Linked DNA regions of Homo sapiens: region 2 is linked to region 1. Evidence: promoter capture Hi-C in 16 types of primary human blood cells and fetal thymus (Javierre and others, 2016). All regions are on one chromosome and are shown on one strand. Each heading gives the region's core, a stretch centred on a gene start or on the middle of the fragment in contact. The rest is flanking DNA. Distances are from core to core; before and after follow the strand shown. Region 1 holds the start of ZNF774 (zinc finger protein 774). Region 2 overlaps IQGAP1 (IQ motif containing GTPase activating protein 1).

Region 1 (6,722 bases), core at 1,473-3,972:
TTGCCAACATAGCAAAATCCTGTCTCTACTAAAAACACAAAAAATTAGCTAGGCATGGTGGCACATGCCTGTGATCGCAGCTACTCAGGAGGTTGAGGTGGGAGAATCGCTTGAGCCCAGGAGGCACAGATTGCAGTGAATCGAGATCGCGCCACTGCACTCCAGCCTGGATGACAGAGCGAGACCCCGTCTCAAAAAAAACAAGATAAATAAATGAAATAAAGGAGAGTAGCATTCTTACCCTTTGAGAGCCCATTCTTCTAACTGTGCTGGGTGGCATTCCTGGAGAGGATTCTCTAAGCAGTGTCCAGGTAACCCACTCTTCCCTGAAGTCCCCAGCCACATTATCAAGCGTCATCAGTTCCTAAAGCAAGAGACCTCAATGTGCATCAGTAGCTCCCTAGATATTCTCACCATTGTCTGAAAGCCAAAAAATGGCCACCAGTGTACACAAACAACCCCCCACACCTGACCAGAATGGTCCTGAGGTAAATTCTGTCAACCACAGAGGGGTGCTTTTCTAAGTCTGTTTTTACATACGTCTTCTCCTGGCCAACTTTCCCATTACTAAGAGAGGCCTAGGCCTCCCAAACACATCGACAGAACCCAGTCTTTTAGACACATTGACTTTTTGAGGAACAAATTGTCCACGATGAACAAGGTAAACAAAGGAGAGAGTTGGCAGGTGTAATTTGATTTCTGGAAAGCTTTTGATTCTCCCCAACTTCATTTTCCTCAGCAAGCAAGGAAATTGTGGCCTTAACTATACTCATATTAGTTATGGGAGCAGCTAACTTCTTGGCTTGCAGATTTGGTGTCAACCTCAAGGGACAGATTATACAGAACCCCAAAGGGAACTGTGTTGGATACCATTCTATTTCAAGATCTTAATGGAGTCAGAAATAAGACTGAAAAAGACATTTTTTTTTTAAAAAAAAGAAGACATGGATAGGTTGTAAAAATAAGTGAAAGTGGGAATAAGCACAAAACACAACTCTTAGGGGCTGAAACCAATCATTAATATATTAATAAATCGACAGCAATATCATGAAAAACATTACTTTTTGGAGGATAGTCAAGAGTGAATTACTGGATGGATCAGTCATTTATTCAACAATTAATATGTTGCCAGGCATAGGAGTCACATAGAAATTAAGATAATGTTTTTTCCCTTAAAAAGTTTCCAATAAACCAGCCTCAGCAACATATTGAGACCTCTTTCTCTACAAAGAACTTTTAAAAATCAGCCAGGCATGGTGGCATGCACTTGTGGTCCCAGCTACTCAGGAGGCTGAAGTGGGAGGATCACTTCAGCCCAGGAGTTCCAGGCTGCAGTGAGCTATGATGGCGCCACTGCACCCCAGCCTAGCAACAGAGTGAGCCCCTGTCTCTCCCTTAAAAAAAAAAAAAATGCAGCCAGCATGACCACCCACTACAAAGAATATTGCATTTCAAGGGAGGAAGGACCAGACTGTGGTGAAGAAGTTTTACTCTTTCACATCTTTTGTCCCACTACAAATCACCTATTTACTACTGGAACACACACACACACACACACACACACACACACACACACACACTTTTGGGGGAAATATTTTTGTATTTACAGACATTATTATTGGTCATTTATAAAGTATTGAGTTTTTAAGGATCTAAAAACCATCTCTCTGGTTTAAAACTTTAACAAACAACAATAATGTAATTAGAAAGTAAAAATTGTAATAAGAGTTTTCAGTATTGGCCAGGTGCTGTGGCTCATGACTGTAATCCCAGCACTTTGGGAAGACGAGACGGGCGGATCACCTGGGGTCAGGAGTTCGAGATCAGCCTGGCCAACATGGTGAAACCCTGTCTCTACTAAGAATACAAAATTAGCCGGGTGTGGTGGCACACGCCTGTAATCCCAACTACTTGGGAGGCTGAGGCAGGAGAATCGCCTGAACCCGGGAGGTGGAGACTGCAGTGAAAGGAGATAGCGCCATTGCATTCCAGCCTGGGCAACAAGAGCGAAATTCCGTCTAAAAAAAAAAAAGAGTTTTGAGTATAATTTTTATTTCTACATTCATTACAAAACACAGCTGCAGGGCCCACTTGCTGGAGACAGCGCCACTGAGGAGGGGAGACGTCTTAGCCACGGTTATAGAAACCCTGTTTCCCAGCCCGTCCCTTTCCCCATGCACAGGTGACCTCAAAGGCCCCACAGCGCTGAGGGGCTGTGACTAAGTGCCACTGTGAGAAGCTCCAGTGCGTTCACCGGGTTTATTAATAGGAACATGACTGCACGCGTGGGGCCGAACCCCGTTCTTCTTCTCGGTGCTCGCGCCCTAACCGGGGTGCGGCGGTCAGAGGGTCACAGATCAGCTGAAACCCTGGGACCACCATCGAGAAGCAAGAAAACTGATTAAGAGAATGACTTATCCCGCCGACGGTATAGAGACCACAGCTACCTCTCCCACAGCCCAGCAAGACCCGGGGGCTCCCAAAGGCCAGCGCGGGAACCCCGCTGAGAAAACGTCTGGGTGGCGGGCAAGCCCCCTCCACGCCCCTCAGCAGCGCGCCGCTGCCGCCGCGGTCTCCCTCCTTGAATCACTCACCGCCCCAGGGCCCAGCCGGGGATGGAGCAGGAAGTGAGTCCTCCACCGCCGAGCCGCACCCGGCCCGCAACCCCGAGGCTGTGCCTCCCAGAACCCGACCGGGATTCGTGACAGGGCTGTGGGGACACAGGTGGGACTCCGGCTTCGACAGCCAGCGGCCGGAAAGTACCGCCCCCATCCTCTTGCTATTGGCTTTTCAGTTTCCATGGCTAGAATTTTTCTCTGTCCATAGGCTGATAGAGCTGTCAATTATCGCCTAGCCTTCTGGGAAACGTAGTCCCGAGCAAGACCTCAAAGGACTCGGAGCCGTGGATGTCCAGTTCCAAGCGTTGGAAAGTGCTAAACCCAATTCCCCAGCTACCGGTCCCCCGGAACCGCCTGTTTGGAGCCGAGGGATCTAAATGCTGTATCCTCACTGTGGCATCTGCAGATGTGAATCTCCTGGCCTCACCCACCTACCGCGGAGCAGCCTGGTGCCCACCATGAGGTCTCCCGCGCTCTGGCACTTCGCCCCTCCCCAGCGCAGAGCAGCTCAGCCCTCGGGCCTTTGCGGCCTCTCTTCTGCCCAGTCTTCCACCTCATCCCCGGCGGCCGGAGCCTGCAGGGTGTTTGCGGAGGCCAGGTCCCAGACCAACTCAAACTGGACATTGGAAAGGCCCAGCAGAAGCCCTTAGTAGAAAACAGACATTCCGCATCCTTCCCTTGGCATCAAACTCCCAGGCACATCCCCTTTCCGTCTGGTTGATAGCCAGAGGAGGCGGGCGAGGGCATCAAGTATTCTGGGAAATGTGATATCGGGCTTCAAACTGGGGAGGCTCCTGGGTCTCATGTGAGAGCCAGTGATCACTTTGGGTCGGCCCCTAGCTAAAAAACAACAAAGTCTTTCCTTAAAGTGAAGAAAATGTGCCTGTCTACTCCGTTTGTTGATTCAGTGCAATTTAGAAAAATAAAAGAACATTTTGTGATGTATTATAAAACGCTTAGAATTACCAGCCATAGAGTTTTTTTTTTTTTTTTTTTTTAGACGGAGTCTCGCTCTGTCGCCCAGGCTAGAGTGCAGTGGCACGATCTCGGCTCACTGCGAGTTCTGCCTCCCAGGTTCACACCATTCTCCTGCCTTAGCCTCCCGAGTAGCTGGGACTACAGGCGCCCGCCACCACACCCGGCTAATTTTTTGTATTTTTAGTAGAGACGGGGTTTCACCATGTTAGCCAGGATGATCTCCATCTCCTGACCTCGTGATCCGCCCGCCTCGGCTTCCTAAAGTGCTGGGATTACAGGCGTGAGCCACCGTGCCCGGCCCGAGTTAATGTTGAAGATCCCTTTGATGCTAATTCCACCATTCCTTCAACAAAAATAAGGTGCATTTTCCAGTGGATATTTATTGGGAACATTCTGTTCTCAAGATCGTTCTGGGGGCAGGGCGTGGTGGCTCACGCCTGTAATCCCAGCACTTTGGGAGGCCGAGGCGGGAGGATCACGAGGTCAGGAGATCGAGACCATCCTGGCTAACATGGTGAAACCCCGTCTCTACTAAATATAGAAAAAATTAGCCGGGCGTGGTGGCGGGCGCCTGTAGTCCCAGCTACTCGGGAGGCTGAGGCAGGAGAATGATGTGAACCCGGGAGGTGGAGCTTGCAGTGAGCCGAGATCGCGCCACTGGACTCCATCCTGAGCGACAGAGCAAGACTCCGTCTCAAAAAAGAAAAAAAGAAAGAAAAAAAAAAAAGATCGTTCTGGGAACTGTGATTACTCGGGAATCATACATAACCATTACCTTCATGAAGTTCACAGGCCAAAAGGGGAAATAAACCATAAAAGGTATCAAAATCCTAAGTAATTTTTTTTTCCATATAGCCAGTGGCATCTTAGTTATTTTGCTACACAATTATAGTCATCTGCAAGGTAACTACATTGCATTTTCGGAAACTCTGTCGACTATGAACAAATGTCTGGTTAGCAGAGGTAGTTAGACGTAGTTAGATTTAGTTAGACGAAATTGAGGAAAATGGAAATCTCAGAGGAGGTCAGTAACAAAGTAACACCCAGGAAACCTAGGGATTGCCAGTCCTCCTGTAACTGGAACAGAGTTCAGGACCTGGAGAACCGAAGGCATCTTCAGACCCCTCGGTAAGTCTTTCTAGCATTTTGCCATTAAGGAGATCATGAAGATTATTCTTCAATCTGGGACTGGAGTGGGGAGATGAATGAAGAGTCACAGAATCTGGCTGGTGGCTATCCCCTGCCGCTCTCTGCAGCTTCTGTTCCTTCTGCCTTACCTTGTTCTCTCGGCGGTTTGTTCACAATGATCAGGTGTGTGGGGAGTAGGGGAAAGGAAGCTTGGTCTCACGAGAAGAGCAGTCAGTACAGGAAACCAATCATGTACCCGCAATGGCCACGTGAAGAGAGGATCATTACCTGTTGAGGGGTTGGGTGCTAAAGGGCGTGGCCGAGAGGAGGCGTAGAAGAGCCAGGAAAAACTGTGAAAGGACTTCAAGGAGCATGAAAAGACAGAAAGACTTCAGCACTTGCTATAACTGAATTTATTTATTTATTTATTTATTTATTTATTTTGAGACAGAGTCTTGCCCTGTCGCCCAGGCTGGAGTGCAATGGCACCATCACAGCTCACTGCAACCTCTGCCTCCTGGCTTCAAGCGATTCTCCTGCCTCAGCCTCCCAAGTAGCTAGGATTACAGGCGTGCACCACCACGCCCGGCTAATTTTTTGTATCTTTAGTAGAGACGGGGGTGTCACCATGTTGGCCAGGCTGGTCTCGAACTCCTGACCTCAGGTGATCCACCCGCCTTGGCCTCCCATAGTGCTGGAACTACAGGCGTGAGCCATCGCACCCTGCCAGAACTGATTTTTTTAAAGAGAGAGTCTATCATTATCTATTGCTGTGTAACAAATTACCCCAAAATTTATTGGTTTAAAAAACCAAATATTTGGTTTTTGTGCTCCCAGCTGTTTGGAAAAGCCGCCGGTATTTCTCCACCTGGCTCTCCTCTACCTCCAGGCAGGCGCACCCGAGGTCCCCCTCCCACCCCACCTTCTGCCCTCCCGCACACTTGGACCAGTGCTGTTGACCCGGAAGCGGACATTTCTGCAGCTATTCTAAGCACACGTCGGCGGAGGGAGCGGGACGTGGCCAGCGGTCAGCGGCGAAGGAGGCAGGCCCTGCGCGGGGATCACGGAAGCCCTGTGATTCACCATGAAGTTCCAGTACAAGGAGGTCCATCCCTTTGAGTATCGGAAAAAGGAAGGAGAAAAGATCCGGAAGAAATATCCGGACAGGGTCCCCTTGATTGTAGAGAAGGCTCCAAAAGCAAGGGTGCCTGATCTGGACAGGAGGAAGTACCTAGTGCCCTCCGACCTTACCGATGGCCAGTTCTACCTTTTAATCCGGAAGAGAATCCACCTGAGACCTGAGGACGCCTTATTCTTCTTTGTCAACAACACTATCCCTCCCACTAGTGCTACCATGGGCCAACTATATGAGGACAGTCATGAGGAAGATGATTTTCTGTATGTGGCCTACAGTAATGAGAGTGTCTATGGGAAATGAGTGGTTGGAAGCCCAGCAGATGGAAGCACCTGGACTTAGGGGTAGGGGAGGGGTGTGTGTGTGACTTGGGGAAAGAGAGGGCGGCTCCCACCGTGAGGAGACAGAAGGTGAAGACATATAGAAACTTTACACCGCACACACCGTCAACGCATTTTCACATGCTCAACTGATATTTTTTGTTGCTTCCTTGGCCCAGGGAGAAAGCATGTCAGGACAGAGCTGTTGGATTGGCTTTGATAGAGGAATGGGGATGATGTAATTTTATGGCATTCCTGAGATTTAATTTTTGTGCAGTTTCATAGAAAGGTCGGTCAGGAGGTGGACAAGTTGGGGTCAGAGATGATGGCAGTCCAGCAGCAACTCCCTGTGCTCCCTTCTCTTTGGGCAGAGATTCTGTTTTTGACAGTTGCACAAGACAGGTAGGGAAAGGGGACTTGTGGTAGTGGGCCATACCTGGGGACGAAAAGAGACCCACTGTAATTGATGCATCGTGGCCCCCGATCTTCCGTATCCCACACTTCTTTTCTCCCATCCCAGTTGCAATCTCACTCACAAACATC
Region 2 (6,722 bases), core at 1,416-3,915, 100 kb before region 1:
ATAGAACCATAGCCTTCAGAAGACTCCTGAAGTGAGGCAGCAAGCGGAAGGGCTAAAAGAAATTTTTAATTCTGAGTAGCCAGACGTATAAAAACAGACCAAGGCTTTAGTGTATTGGAGCTTTTTGCACACTGACACTCGTGTGGGCTCTGTAAGTTTTGGTGAAGGGTAGAGGAGTGGGCAATTTTATATGTTGGTAATATTATGATGTTGACTGATCTCCTTTGATTACATTGGCATGGCAGTAGTTGACATTACCATGTCCTAATCATGTAAGTGTAGTATCTGATAGATACTACCAGGTTTCATTTAAGAGATATAATTATGCAGAATGTCACTTGATGCTGTGGAGAGGGTTGAATCACAACTGCTATTTCATAGCCAGGAAATTGAGATCAACTGATTTTACTTACTCGGATAAGAAGTAGTTGGCTCTAGGGAAGCTAGAAATGGAAGTCTCTGTCTTTGATTCATTTTATTAGATTAGTGTTTCCCAAACTTGGCTGGTCATCAGAACAATGAAAAAGTCATTTTTAAAATACAGATTCCTAAGCTTAAAGTCTAATTCTACTGATTCAGAATCTCTAATGTGTCAGGCTGCAATGATTCTATGTATGCTAGTGGTAGTAATGTTTGTTTTTGCTGCTAAGAAAGTCCAAAGGGAGCCTTATATCTGACTGTCAGAGGAGTGGGGTTTCGGAGAATAAGCTAGGTCGGCTTCCATATCTAAAAAGGGAAGTAGATTGAAGATACAACTTATATAGCTGTCACTCATGCTAAGTGTCTATCAAATCACGAATAAAGTGCAAATAATTCATATGTCATCAACTCATGAATGGATAAATAAAATGTGGTAAAGTGGAAATAATCCATGTGTCATCAACTCATGAATAAATAAATAAAATGTGGTACAGTCATACAATGGAATATTATTCAGCAACAAAAAGAAATGAAGTGCTACTGCTACAGCTTGGATAAACTAAGCTAAAAGAAGCCAGTCACAAACGACCATACATTGCATAACTCCATTTATATGAAATGTTCAGAATAGACAAACCCATAGACAAACCAGCAGTCTGATGGTTGCCCAGGGCTGGGGGAGATTAAGGGAAAATGAGTGACTACTAATGGGTACTGAGTTTCTCTTGGGGTGATGAAATGTTCAAAAATTGACTGTGGTGATGACTGCACAATTCTATCAACGTACTAAAGTCCACTGACGCTGAATTACCTGATACGTGAATTACGTTTCAATTAAGTTGTCACAAAAAACCTTCATGACATTATCTATTAAAGCTTCATATATGTGTTCCCTATGGCCATAACTCCTCTCCAAAATGTATACCTAACAGAAATGCACATATATGTTTTTAACCAAAATTAAAAATTCATAGAAGCACTATTTACAGGCCATGGGCAGTGGCTCATGCCTGTAATTCCCAACACTTTGGGAGGCTGAGGCGGGCAGATCACTTGAGGTCAGGAGTTCGAGACCAAACTGGCCAACATGGTGAAACCCCATCTCTACAAAAAATACAAAAAAAAAAAAAAAAAATTTTAGCCAGGCATGGTGGCTCTCGCCTGTAATCCTAGGTACTGGGGAGGCAGAGGCAGGAGAATTGCTTGAACCTGGGAGGCAGAAGTTGCAGTGAGCTGAGATTGCGTCATTGCACTCTAGCCTGGGTGACAGAGCAAGACTCCGTCTCAAAAAAAAAACAAAGAAGCCCTATTTACAACAGTCTGAAAAAACAAACAAAACAACAAAAAACTTCACCAATAACATATAACCACACAATGAAATAGTACACAACAATGAGAATGAGCAAAGGATGGCTCCATGCAACCACATGGATGCATATCATTAACATTATTTAGGGCAACAGAAGCCAGACACAAAAGAGCACATAAGGTATGATCCCACTTAAATACAGCTCAAAAGTGGACGGAAATGAACTGTGGTGTTATTAATAGAAATCAGAATAGTGCTTACCACCAAATGGAGGGTGGCTAAGGGTGGAAGGGGATATGAGGAAGGTCTCTGTGGTGCTGGTAATGGGTTCTACAATCTGACTGCCAAATACACAGGTGTGCCTCCTTTTGAAAATTTATGCAATTGCATACCCATCTACCTTGTTCATTTTTCTGGATCATATATATATATTTTTTTTTCTGGATCGTATATATGTATATATACGTATATTATATATATACGTATATATATATATACACACACACACACATATATATATATATATATTTTTTTGAGACGGAGTCTTACTCTGTCCCCCAGACTGGAGTGCAGTGGCGCAATCTCGGCTCACTGCAACCTCCACCTCTCAGGCTCAAGTAATTCCTGTGCCTCAGCCTACCAAGTAGCTGGGATTACAGGCATGCACCACCACGCCCAGCTAATTTTTGTATTTTTTTTTTTTTTTTTAGTAGAGATGAGGTTTCACCATGTTGGCCAGGCTGGTCTTGAACTCCTGGCCTCAAGGGATCTGCCTGCCTTGGCCTCTCAAAGTGCTGTGGGATTACAAGGCGTGAGCCACTGCGCCCAGCCCTGGATCTTATATTTCAGTAAAGAATTTACTGAAAGAGACACAAAAGACTGTCAACAACAAACAAAAGAACAAAAACCCAAATGTGTAAAACAGCATGAGCTCCTAGTAGGTGGAGCCTATGTCTCTCACATTTTTGTGTCCCTCCAGTGCTTTGAATCTAAGGGTGCCCAGAAGGCATTCACTGAATGAATCAAGGAAGATATTCCTACCTCTACCTTTGTTCTAGGAGGGCTGAGGTGCTCTGAACATAAAGAACAATTCCGATGCCACTCACCTGGGCTTTCTCTCTCTTCGCTCTAATCAGCGTGTCTTGGTAATGCTGGGCCACTTCTGCAAGGACTCCCTCAAGTTTAGCTGCAGGAATCTGTAGGGCCTGCAGAGTCTTTTGGGCATCACCTTCATCCAGGGCTTCATTAATTAAACCAATGGCTAAAATCCCTAAATATAAAGAGACAGAAAGTTTTTTTTTTCTAATTAAGGAAGTACATAAACAAATCAATCATGGAACATGCTAACTAATCATAAATCCACCTAAGAGTAACCATGATTCAAACTGCAACTTACCATCCGTTAAGCAGCACTGTTTTCATTTTTTAATTAGTATTTATTTCAACTAAACTCACTTGTATTCATATTCCTATTGAATGCTCAAGTCCTTTTGTTTCATTTTTAATTGCTCTAACTTAAAAGCGATGAGGATTTTTATGAAACTGGCCTTACTGTATAGCTTTCAGGTACACTGGAATGTGTAATCAAAAACATTCTTGAGTCACAAAGGATTCACGAAGAGTCTTAAAAAGGTTCAAGGGTTCTTAAAAAGTCATCTAATTCAACACTTTTATAGAAGAAATAACAAGGCTTAGCAATCTCTTCTCCAAGATTACACAGCAAACAAATGGCAGAAGAAAGATCCAAGCGCAGGGCTCCCTAATGCGAAGCAAGGCTCTTCCCACCAAGTCAGTTGAATATTTCTCCCAGGAAATACAAATTAAAATTAGGAACGTTCACTCCCCAGGTATCTTAGGCAGCCGTACTGCTTTTGTAAGGACTCTGCTGTATAATAAAAAGTCTGGCTGGTCTTTGTCTCTGGGGGAGCGTCTAAGACCCTTGGGATATCCTGAGTGATAGGTATGTTTCTGTGATTCATGGTGGGCCCCTCCGCCCACACCTGAATTTATGCCAACCAATGACTCCTGGTTGGCCTCATGAGAGTTTAAGGATGGAGGCTGGCCATGCTGGAAAGATCAACCACTGAGGTATAGAGTCACGTGATACCAGCCTGGCCTCCCATTCTCCAGGGAGCAGAGGCCAAATGAAAATTGAGTTTAATCGCAAAGCCAATACTATCAATCACGCATATGTAACGAACCCAAATAAAAACTCTGGACACCCAAAACTCAGGTGTGTTTCCCTGGTTGGTGATACACGTCAATGTGCCAGGAGAGTGACACATCCTGAGAACACAGAAGCTTCATATTGGGGACTCTCACAGATATTGCCTGATGATTCTCTTCTTTCAGCTGATCCTGATTTACATATTTTGTAATAAAATTTTAATCGTAAGTCTAGCATTTTCTTGAGTTCTGTGAGTCATTCTAGCAAATTATTAAACCTGAGCGGGTAGAAGGGATCCTCCAAATTTGCAGCCAGTTGTTCAGAAGTACAGTGGCCTGGGAACCCTGCAGCTTTCAGCTTGTGTCTGAAGTGAGAGGAGTCTTGTGGAGGACCATGCCTACAACCTGTGCAATTCAACCTAATTCCATGTAGTGTCAGGACTACTTGTTATAACAGCATTTAAAAATAACAGATCATGTTCAATTCACCTCCCCCAAAATTTAGTTCTTACTGGACATATACCTAATTATAGCAATTGCCTGGTGTTCTCAAAACAATATCCAACTTTAGCCTTTTGTGTTATATAGATATTTTCAATCTCTCACCCAAAAATCCTTCTAGGAGTAGTATTTTGAACCACTTCATGGAATCACATCATCATTAATGGTGACATTATTTGGGGAGGACAGGAAGATAACTCACTCTCATGTTCCTCTTGCACCACCAGGTTCACATGGTCCACGCAAGCTTGGATATCATTCCATGTAATGAATTCATTATTCTCTGCATGTGCCTGAGCCTTCAGTTTCATCAACTCATCGAGATACCTGCCCCAGACCCCCAAGTAAAAAGAGCATTAAGCACAGCATGTTTAAATATTCAAGGAACAAAGATTGCTAGGGTATCCCAACCATTTGATATATTCTCAAGACCAGTTTTGGAACTGCACAGTTACTTTAAACAAAGTGCAAAAATGCAACAGAAATCACTTATTCTCAATATCCTGTTACATATTCTAAATTCCATGTTAAGACTAACTCTAGAATTAAAGGCAGCAGTTCAAGCAATTCCTCCATAGACAAGAAAAAAAGGCTACACATGAGCTAATAAATGCAGGAGGAATGACAGAGCAACAAATCATCATTCAGCAACTTTTACTGAAGGTACTGATTTAGGAAAGATTATCAATTGGGTTAAAAATATCACGTGAATGCTTAATGGAAAACTAGATATTTTGACGGTGCAAAAGAGATGATGTTCTAGTGATGAGGGAAAAGCGTAAATACGCAATGGAAGTATAAGTGGTCTCCCTAATCCAGGGATCAATCTTAGTATCTCTAATGGTGGGATGGTGGGAAAAGTGGGTTTTATATGCCTATTGATATGAGGCAATATGAAATACACATCATCAAAAATGTTGAACTGAATCGTGACAAGCCTAGAAATTTAATTTCCAATTTACAGGAATAAGGCAAATATGAGAAAGCAACTAGAACTATCCATAAAATAGGCAATTGGTCCCATCCCTTTAACAAGTCAGTCTCATGAAGAAAGGGACAATTCTAGATTAAAAGATACTCAAGGGACACAACAGCCAGATATAATACATGTTCCTAGGCTAGATCTTGTTTTCAACAAAACAGCTATAAAGGACAGTTTGGGAACAAATGAAGAATGAAAATGAACTAGCTAGGGTTAGATGATATTTAAAAAGTATTATTTAACTTTGTCAGAGATAGTGTTATTTTGACTATGTAACATATTTAAGCCTACTTATATATTTAGGAACGGAATGTCATATTTTTCAGCATAACAAAGAATTAAGTGAATCAAAGTAGAACCAAACAAAAGTATGACCATGATAAAGTAATAATGCCTGCAAAGAAAATCGGAGCACTGACATACAAAAGACAGGGTTAACAGCTACGTAATGGATTTATTCCCTTCACTCTGGACACCCACCTCTGACAGTTTTCTTCCTCAATATTGGTAAGACCAGTAACTGAACTGCTCAATTGCTTCCACACTGTATTCACATCTCCTGATTCCAATGCCCTGTTGATCAGGGCCACCGATGACAACATCTCCACTGCGACAGAGAGCTCTGGGTGGGTGAGATTATGCTGTACAGAAAGGGACAGAAGGGAAAACAGTGAGGAAAGACATTCTCCAAGACCCAGGGAGTTATAAGTTTAATAAAACTGTAAGAAAACCAAGTTTATGCAAAAAAGTTCTACCTAACCACAGGAAGAAGTGGGTATTACACTCACGTCCACCCAACTTTGCTCACAAACAGGACAGGTTTAGTGAACTCACTTCAGGACTTTGTCGCTGCAGGGTAGCCAGCTCCTTCTGATAGAGATCGGCGGCAAATGGATACACCTGGGGCAGCTGGGCTTCGGGATTCATCAGTTCCAAAACAGTCTTCTCAGCAACACCCTTCTGGATTGCAGCATTAATCAGTGCTACTGCTGCCAATCCTGTGTAAAAAACAGGAGTCAGAAACGCAGTGGGCTTAGAGAGCCCTCAGGGGAAGAAGGTGCCAATCTTCATGGGAAAAATATCACATTCTGTGGCTATCAGCCATGAAGTTTGAAGTGGAACTTTCGTCTTTAAAAAAGCAGCCTCCTTTGTCTGAAGAAGGGTGAACTGTACGGTATGTGAACCATGTCTCAATCAAGATGTTTTCTTCAAAAAGCAGCCTCCTAACTGTTCTCCTCATCCCTATTTTCTTCCCGTTCAATTCATCCTATATGCTACCACTACTTCCCATCTAAACCACCTCTTCCTTCTCCTACTGCCTGGCTTCTTAAGCTACCATTCAAA

What was found. The method cuts DNA at HindIII sites, captures the fragments that hold promoters and counts their contacts. A CHiCAGO score of 5 or more calls a contact.
Region 2: a fragment that was not itself captured here is called in contact with the fragment with the promoter of ZNF774 in region 1 in 8 of 17 cell types (endothelial precursors, activated CD4 T cells, naive CD8 T cells and 5 more); the score reaches 7.8 in endothelial precursors.

The regions. Positions count from the first base shown.
Region 1 is chr15:90,348,284-90,355,005 of GRCh38, reverse strand. ZNF774 (zinc finger protein 774) reads right to left here and starts at 2,722. Exons shown (of 4, transcript NM_001004309.3): 1 at 2,595-2,722; 2 at 242-364. The coding sequence starts at 345. It also overlaps the pseudogene GABARAPL3. The HindIII fragment of the contact is 4,226 bases long and covers 710-4,935 here.
Region 2 is chr15:90,452,429-90,459,150 of GRCh38, reverse strand. IQGAP1 (IQ motif containing GTPase activating protein 1) reads right to left here. Exons shown (of 38, transcript NM_003870.4): 12 at 6,213-6,376; 13 at 5,859-6,019; 14 at 4,599-4,723; 15 at 2,836-2,999. Among named protein-coding and RNA genes, the nearest start is that of IQGAP1, 68 kb to the right of the region's middle. RefSeq lists an enhancer at 2,489-3,000. The HindIII fragment of the contact is 2,734 bases long and covers 1,299-4,032 here.